2 separate regions of the Homo sapiens genome follow, and region 1 is linked to region 2. The links are contacts of gene promoters, found by promoter capture Hi-C in blood cells and fetal thymus (Javierre and others, 2016). All regions are on one chromosome and are shown on one strand. Each heading gives the region's core, a stretch centred on a gene start or on the middle of the fragment in contact. The rest is flanking DNA. Distances are from core to core; before and after follow the strand shown. Region 1 holds the start of CD68 (CD68 molecule). Region 2 holds the start of GPS2 (G protein pathway suppressor 2).

Region 1 (3,142 bases), core at 628-3,127, 260 kb before region 2:
TGCTCAGAGGGCCTGGTAGGCGGATGGGCGTCTCCGGATGATGCAGAAAGCAATAAGCACCAGGGCGAGGAGGCCAAGAAGGATCAGGCCGATGATGAGAGGCAGCAAGATGGACCGGTCACTGGGGCAGGAGAAACCTGGCGGAAGGATAGGGCAGGTAGGTATTTGCAGTGACGTGCTGGTTGGGATAAAGGTGGGAGGAGGGAATGGGGGGATGCTGGGGAGTAGGAGATTGGTGAGGAGCTCACCGCAGTGACTCAGCAGTGATAAAAGGGGGAAACTGGCAGAGTCTTGTAGAGGATGGAAAGAAAGCTGCCCTGTAGCCATGACAAGCTGGGAGAGCGAGATTTGGGGGGTTAAGAAGAGAGATGAGTGGCTTATGGGCCTGGGGAAGGGGTTTTCAGTGCAGTGGGAGGATTCTAGGAGGGAAGGAGTAGGTAGGTCTTACTTTGCCCAAAGACCCCTGTGTGGGGCAGCTGAGCAGCCTGGAGCCTCAGGGAGAGCAGGTCGAGGTGGACAGCTGGTGAAAGAATGATGCTCGAGTTGCTGCAACTGAAGCTCTGCCCCAGGGGTGCTTGGAGATCTCGAAGGGATGCATTCTGAGCCGAGAATGTCCACTCTGGAGGAGTGAGGAAGGGTCAGATCCTATCCACCTCCCTGGCCCCAGCTTAGTCCTTTCAGGAACCCTGGCGTCTAGTGGTAGCAATGAGAAAGGGAAGGAGGTTACTTACGTGCTGCGTGGGGGAAGGACACATTGTACTCCACCGCCATGTAGCTCAGGTAGACAACCTTCTGCTGGAGGTCCTGTGGGGCGAAGAGGAAGGCGCAGGTGGTATCCCTCTCCACAGAGGAAGGAGTAGCGTGTGGGATTGGGAGGGGAGGGGCGCCGGGAGGCTGAGTGAGGGGTGAGACTGAGGTCATGGCTATACCTGCATGAATCCAAAGCTGAGGTGTCCATAGGGGAATGAGAGAAGCAGGTGGGGATGGGCACCCTCACAGCTTCCCTGGACCTTGGTTTTGTTGGGGTTCAGTACAGAGATGCCCCAGGCCTGCGGAAGTTAAAGACTGGAAGGTCACAAGACTGCATGCGATGCCGGCCAAGGTTCCCTGTCCCCTCTTCCTTCTTCCCTCTGAGCCTATATCCAGTCCTGCCTCCCTCCCCTCTCATCCCCCAGTTTTAGCTTTACCTCTCCTCCACCCTGGGTTGTGTACATGACTCGAATCTGAATCTGGGCTTGGAGGTGGACACAGGGCTGGGAACCATTGGTCCACGTGTAGTCTCCAATGGTCTCCTTGGAGGTTGGGCTAGGACTCGGAGAGGGTGGAGGTGGTTCTGGGTGGGCAGAACTGGTGAATCCTGGGCTGGTGGCAGTGCTGTTGCTTGTTGGATGAACCGTGGCATTTCCATGACTAGTGGTGGCAGGACTGTGAGTGGCAGTTGAGGGTCCCTGGCTGGTGGCAGTGCTATTGCTTGTTGGATGAACTGTGACGTTTCCATGGCTGGTGGTGGTGGGGTTGTGAGTGGCAGTCGTGGGTCCGTGGCTGGTGGTGCCTGTGGTGGTTGTCCTGTGAGTGGTGGTTTTGTGGCTCTTGGTAGTCCTGTGGCTGGTTGTTCCAGTGCTCTCTGTAACCGTGGGTGTCACCGTGAAGGATGGCAGCAAAGTAGCTGATTTTTTGTGAGGACAGTCATTCCCTGTCCCCTGGGCTTTTGGCAGAGAGGAGATGGTTAGCAACCCAGGGCAGGCTCCCTCCCAGGGGCCCCCTCCCCTCAGCCTCCTTCCTCCTTACCTGCCAGTAGCCCCAGCAGGGCCCCCGAGAAAAGCACAGCCAGCCTCATGGCTGAACCGCCTCACCCAAAGTCCAGCTAGGCTGTCTGCACCAGTTGCTCAACCCTGCTCCCTCAGCCCTCTCTTGGAAAGGAGGAAATGAAAGTCTCACTTCCTGTACTGGAGATGATCCCACCCACAGCCTGACTCAGGGGCCTCAGCTCTAGCCACCTCTCTCTTAGTCATTAGTTTTTGTAATTAAGTTAGGGGACTGTTGGCCCTGCTTCATCAGGGCAAAGTCAACAGTGTCACATGGGTGCAAACGGAGTCCTAGGGCAGTTGATCCACAGGGATCCATGTGTCAAACTCAGCGAAACTTGCTTGGCAGTTGTGGCAAGTAGCTATGGGAACAGCTGAGGTACAGGCCCCTCCCTTGGTGGGGAAATCGGTTTCCACTCCTTTCCCCTGGACCTCTGGGCTGACCCCTGTACTACTTCCTCTTGGCTGAGGCATGTGAGGGGCTTGTGACCATCCACACCCAGCCCTTTACAGAGGGGCAGCACTCCAGTCAGCATTGTCATTCACAGAGCCGAGAACATGGCTTTCCAGCGTCTGAGAACTCAGATGGTGACAAGAAAGCAACAGCCCAAAGGTAACCATCTGCTGGGGAAGGGGGGAGCAGAGATGCACCCAGTAGCAGGTGGGAGAGGGAAGGGGAGGTAAGAAATGAGAAGCCCAAACAGGCAGTTTCCAAGTCATTTTATTCAGAATTTTGTGTTTGTTTCCTGAATCAATAAATACTATACAAAACAATGTAAAAATGGCTACCATTTTCTCTCCCCTGCTTCCCCCCACCTGGGGACAACCCCCTGGGCAACCTCACTTAGGGGTTTTAGGGGTTCTCCCTCCAGATTTGGTCCAGCAAATGAGGCTGAGTGACATAGTCCCTTGAATCACTTTCAAAGGAGCTCAGCTGAGGTGAGGAGAGCCTCTGGGATCTGGAGGTTACTAGGTTAGGGAAATGGATTAGTGTTTTTTTTTTTTTTTTGGGAGAAGAGCCGGCGCCTGGGGCAAGAGCCTACCCCAAAGAAAAGGGTGTCTAAAATGTTCACGGTTCCTTCTTTTGCCTCAAAAAGTGACATTTATTCAAAGAAAAAAAATGACAAGATGTCCATCCCTTGGCTCCCTTCCCTCCCCCCTCCTGCTGCTCCTCAGCCCCCAGAGATTGAGCCCTGGCTGGGGCTGGGTGGCAGGACAGCCCCTCAGATGAGGTCAGCAACATTGAGGGGCATTTCCTCAATGGAGGTGTTGTAGAAGGTCTCAATGTCTCGAAGAGTCCTCTTGTCTTCTTCTGTCACCATGTTAATAGCCACACC
Region 2 (3,305 bases), core at 806-3,305:
GTGGAGGAATAAAAAGGGCTATCCTGACCCAGTTCTCCTCCCAGGTACTGCCTCCATCCTGAGCTGCCGTCCTTTGAAGGGAGAACCTGGGGTAGGGTTCGAGGAGCCTGGCGAGAACTGTGCACCTCCTCGGGAGGAGCAGCCCCCTCCTGTGCTGCTTTCCCCCTCCCTTCAATATGCTGGGGCGGAGACCCTGGCCTCCAAAGTGCAGTGAGTACTGGGAGGGGTGGGGAGAGATTTCCAGGGGCTCGGATGGAGAGGGCCCAAGCGCAGCCACTGGGGTCTTCATGATTCGCCCTCCCCTTTTCTCATCTCGTCTTGCTAGCTGCCAGTCTCCAACTCAGCCCTTTCTTCATTCATTGAACAAATACTACTTATATACTCTTCTAGTGGGCAAAAAAAGGAACCTTGCTCTTGTGGAACTTCTGCCTTTTCTCTCTACAATGTTCATACGTAATAAGTATTATTTATTTATTTATTTTTATTTTTATTTTTTTTGAGACGGAGTCCTGCTCTGTCACCCAGGCTGGAGTGCAGTGGCGTGATCTCACTGCAACCTCCACCTCCTGGGTTCAAGCGATTCTCCTGCCTCAGCCTCCTGAGTAGCTGGGACTACAGGCACGCACCACCAAGCCCGGATAATTTTTGTATTTTTAGTAGAGACGGGGTTTCGCCATGTTGGCCAGGATGGTCTCGATCTCCTGACCTCGTGATCCGCCCACCTCGGCCTCCCAAAGGGCTGGGACAGGCGTGAGCCACCGCGCCCCGCCAGTATTTAGTATTTTTAAAGGTAATAAGTAAGGACTATGGAAACAGAGAAAGAATGGGGCGGAGACAGCAGTGCGGTTGGTGTGGACATCCTAAGAAGGTGGGAGAGATTCGAGCAAAGGCTTGAAGAAGGAAGTGAAGGGTGTAGCTGAGCAGGCTTTGGGAGGAAGAGCATTTCAGGTAGAACAGCTAGAGCGAAGTTCCCATAAGGTGGGAGTATTTCCTAGGTACAGCAAGGCTTGTGTGGTTGGAACAGACTTTGCAAGGGGGAGGTGATGGGGCGAGAGGCTTCACTCCCTTATTTTTTCTTGTCTGACAGATTCCGGGACCCCAAATCCCAGCGGACGCACCAGGCTCAGGTGGCGTTCCAGGTGTGTGTGCGCCCTGGCTCCTACACCCCGGGACCCCCTTCCGCTGCCCTTGGAGAACCTCCTGACCCTCACTTCAGTCCAGCCGAACTTGAGTGGGTCACTAAGGAGAAGGGGGCCACACTCCTCTGTGCCCTGCTGGTACGGGTGGAATGAGGGGTGAGACACCACTACTACAAGCACAGTCGGGCCGCGGGCCCATGGACTCTGAGTGGCGACTGCCTCCACCTCATTCCCGTGACTCGTGGCATGCGCAGGTGCTGGAGCTTGGCAGCCGCGCAGGAGCATGTAGGCAGGCTCTCAGATGTAGGTGGCAAGTGGCACAGCTCCATGTCCGGAGGCCCAGCACTCCGTCTGATGGGAGGAGTCGTGGGAGCCCAGCTCCAGGCCCTGGTACCCCTCTTCATGCACTGATTTGGGGAACATGACTCCCTTTTACTCCCCTACCCCACATCACTTAATTTATTTCCGTTTTTGTTTCTGGTTACTGTGAATCCCAGAGGAGTCTCTCCCTGTGCCCACATGAAGCTGCTTTTTCCGGGGCCACCGGGCGGGAGTGGGGAAGGGTGGGCGCACGGAAGATGGGGGCCTCTGTACAGTTGTTACTGACTCTGATTTCTAAGGAGCCAATAAACACCGTCTCAGAGCCTCCGCCTCGGCCTCTCTCTCGCGCGCCCCTCTCCGGAGCCCGCGTCCCCTGGGGTGCCACCAGGTGGGCCCGCGAAATTAAAGAGAGCTGAGGATGCCAAGGCCAGTCTGCAGCCGTCGTCGCTCACGTTCCCGGCGACGGGGTTTGTACGCCGCGGGCACCCGTCGCAGCGCGCTTCCGCCTTCTTTCACCTGTGAGGTCGGCCGCCGCCGTGACTCCGGAAGGACTCGGCCGGGCCGCCGGATGTGACGCAGGGGCCAGGGCGCGTCGGAGCCGCTGAGAAAGCGCAGAGAAGGCGGGTAGGAAGGGCAGTCGTCCGCGCTGGCTGGGCAGGGAGCGGCAGCAGCGAGCCGGGGACCCCGGCGCCGCCCGCGCGCGGTGGGACTGGGGCTGCGGTCCCGGCCGGGTGGCGGGCTCCTGGGACACGTGACCGGGGCGGCGAGCGGGCCGGGCGGACGGGCTTCCGCCTGGGCCGGGCGCGGCCCCCTCTGAGCGCCCGCCTCCCCGCAGGCCCCGTCTGAGGTCTGGCAGTCAGAGACAGCCGGGCGCCCACGGCCCGAGCGCCCACGGCAGCACCATGCCCGCACTCCTGGAGCGCCCCAAGCTTTCCAACGCCATGGCCAGGGCGCTGCACCGGCACATTATGATGGAGCGGGAGCGCAAGCGGCAGGGTGAGCCGGGGCCATAGCAGGGGGACGCACGGCCCAGAATGGCTCCTGTACCTCAAGGCTGGCCTCAACCCACCGGCCAACCAGCGCGCCCGCTGCCGAGCGCAGAGGAGGGAAGGAATAGCCCCGTTGTGGTGGGATTTAAGCGTCCTGTTCCACGCTCCAGAACCCTTGAGATGGGAAGGACCTTGGAGAGCACCTGATAAAGCCTTTCCGTTCCCTATTGCCGCGATGGGGAGCTTGTCCCCTCGAGGCAAAGAGCATACAGGCGTGTTGGGATGACTGGGTTTTGCTGGTCTTCAATCTGTAACGTTGGAATTGTTTTCACTACCCTGCCTCTTCTTCATTCTGCCTGATTCTCCAGAGGAAGAAGAGGTGGATAAGATGATGGAACAGAAGATGAAGGAAGAACAGGAGAGAAGGAAGAAAAAGGAGATGGAAGAGAGAATGTCATTAGAGGAGACCAAGGAACAAGTAAGCAGTCCCTTGAACTTTCCCAGCTTTGATTTCTTCGTTTGACTCTCCCTGCCTTCATCTTCTTTTCCCACCCCATCCCAGATTCTGAAGTTGGAGGAGAAGCTTTTGGCTCTACAGGAAGAGAAGCACCAGCTTTTCCTGCAGCTCAAGAAAGTTTTACATGAGGAAGAAAAACGGAGGCGAAAGGAACAGAGGTGGGATCAGAGTGCTAAAAACTGAAATGGGGGCCAAGTGGAACTGGGATCAGGTAGTAAAAGAACCAGTGTTTAATGGCAAAAGAGAAGGCATCTGTCCTTGACTTTGACCTGTCTTCCTTTCACTCCAGTGACCTGACCACCCTAACATCAGCTGCATACCAGCAGAGCCTGACTGTTC

What was found. Contacts are between HindIII fragments. The CHiCAGO score rates a contact against its expected background, and 5 or more counts as called.
Region 1: the fragment with the promoter of CD68 here is called in contact with the fragment with the promoter of GPS2 in region 2 in 7 of 17 cell types (naive CD4 T cells, total B cells, fetal thymus and 4 more); the score reaches 9.0 in naive CD4 T cells.

The regions. Positions count from the first base shown.
Region 1 is chr17:7,578,373-7,581,514 of GRCh38, reverse strand. It overlaps CD68 (CD68 molecule), which reads right to left and starts at 1,877. Exons shown (of 6, transcript NM_001251.3): 1 at 1,789-1,877; 2 at 1,188-1,705; 3 at 930-1,049; 4 at 732-804; 5 at 449-619; 6 at 1-137. The coding sequence starts at 1,837. The coding sequence ends at 4. EIF4A1 (eukaryotic translation initiation factor 4A1) reads right to left here. Exons shown (of 11, transcript NM_001416.4): 11 at 2,509-3,142. The coding sequence ends at 3,029. SENP3-EIF4A1 (SENP3-EIF4A1 readthrough (NMD candidate)) reads right to left here. Exons shown (of 22, transcript NR_037926.1): 22 at 2,509-3,142. RefSeq lists enhancers at 983-1,052, 1,153-1,212 and a silencer at 2,688-2,876. The HindIII fragment of the contact is 9,128 bases long and covers 1-3,142 here.
Region 2 is chr17:7,314,110-7,317,414 of GRCh38, reverse strand. It overlaps GPS2 (G protein pathway suppressor 2), which reads left to right and starts at 2,055. Exons shown (of 11, transcript NM_004489.5): 1 at 2,055-2,084; 2 at 2,296-2,456; 3 at 2,818-2,927; 4 at 3,012-3,124; 5 at 3,256-3,305. The coding sequence starts at 2,363. It overlaps NEURL4 (neuralized E3 ubiquitin protein ligase 4), which reads left to right. Exons shown (of 29, transcript NM_032442.3): 28 at 45-210; 29 at 1,088-1,787. The coding sequence ends at 1,292. RefSeq lists a silencer at 2,113-2,442. The HindIII fragment of the contact is 7,056 bases long and covers 1-2,391 here.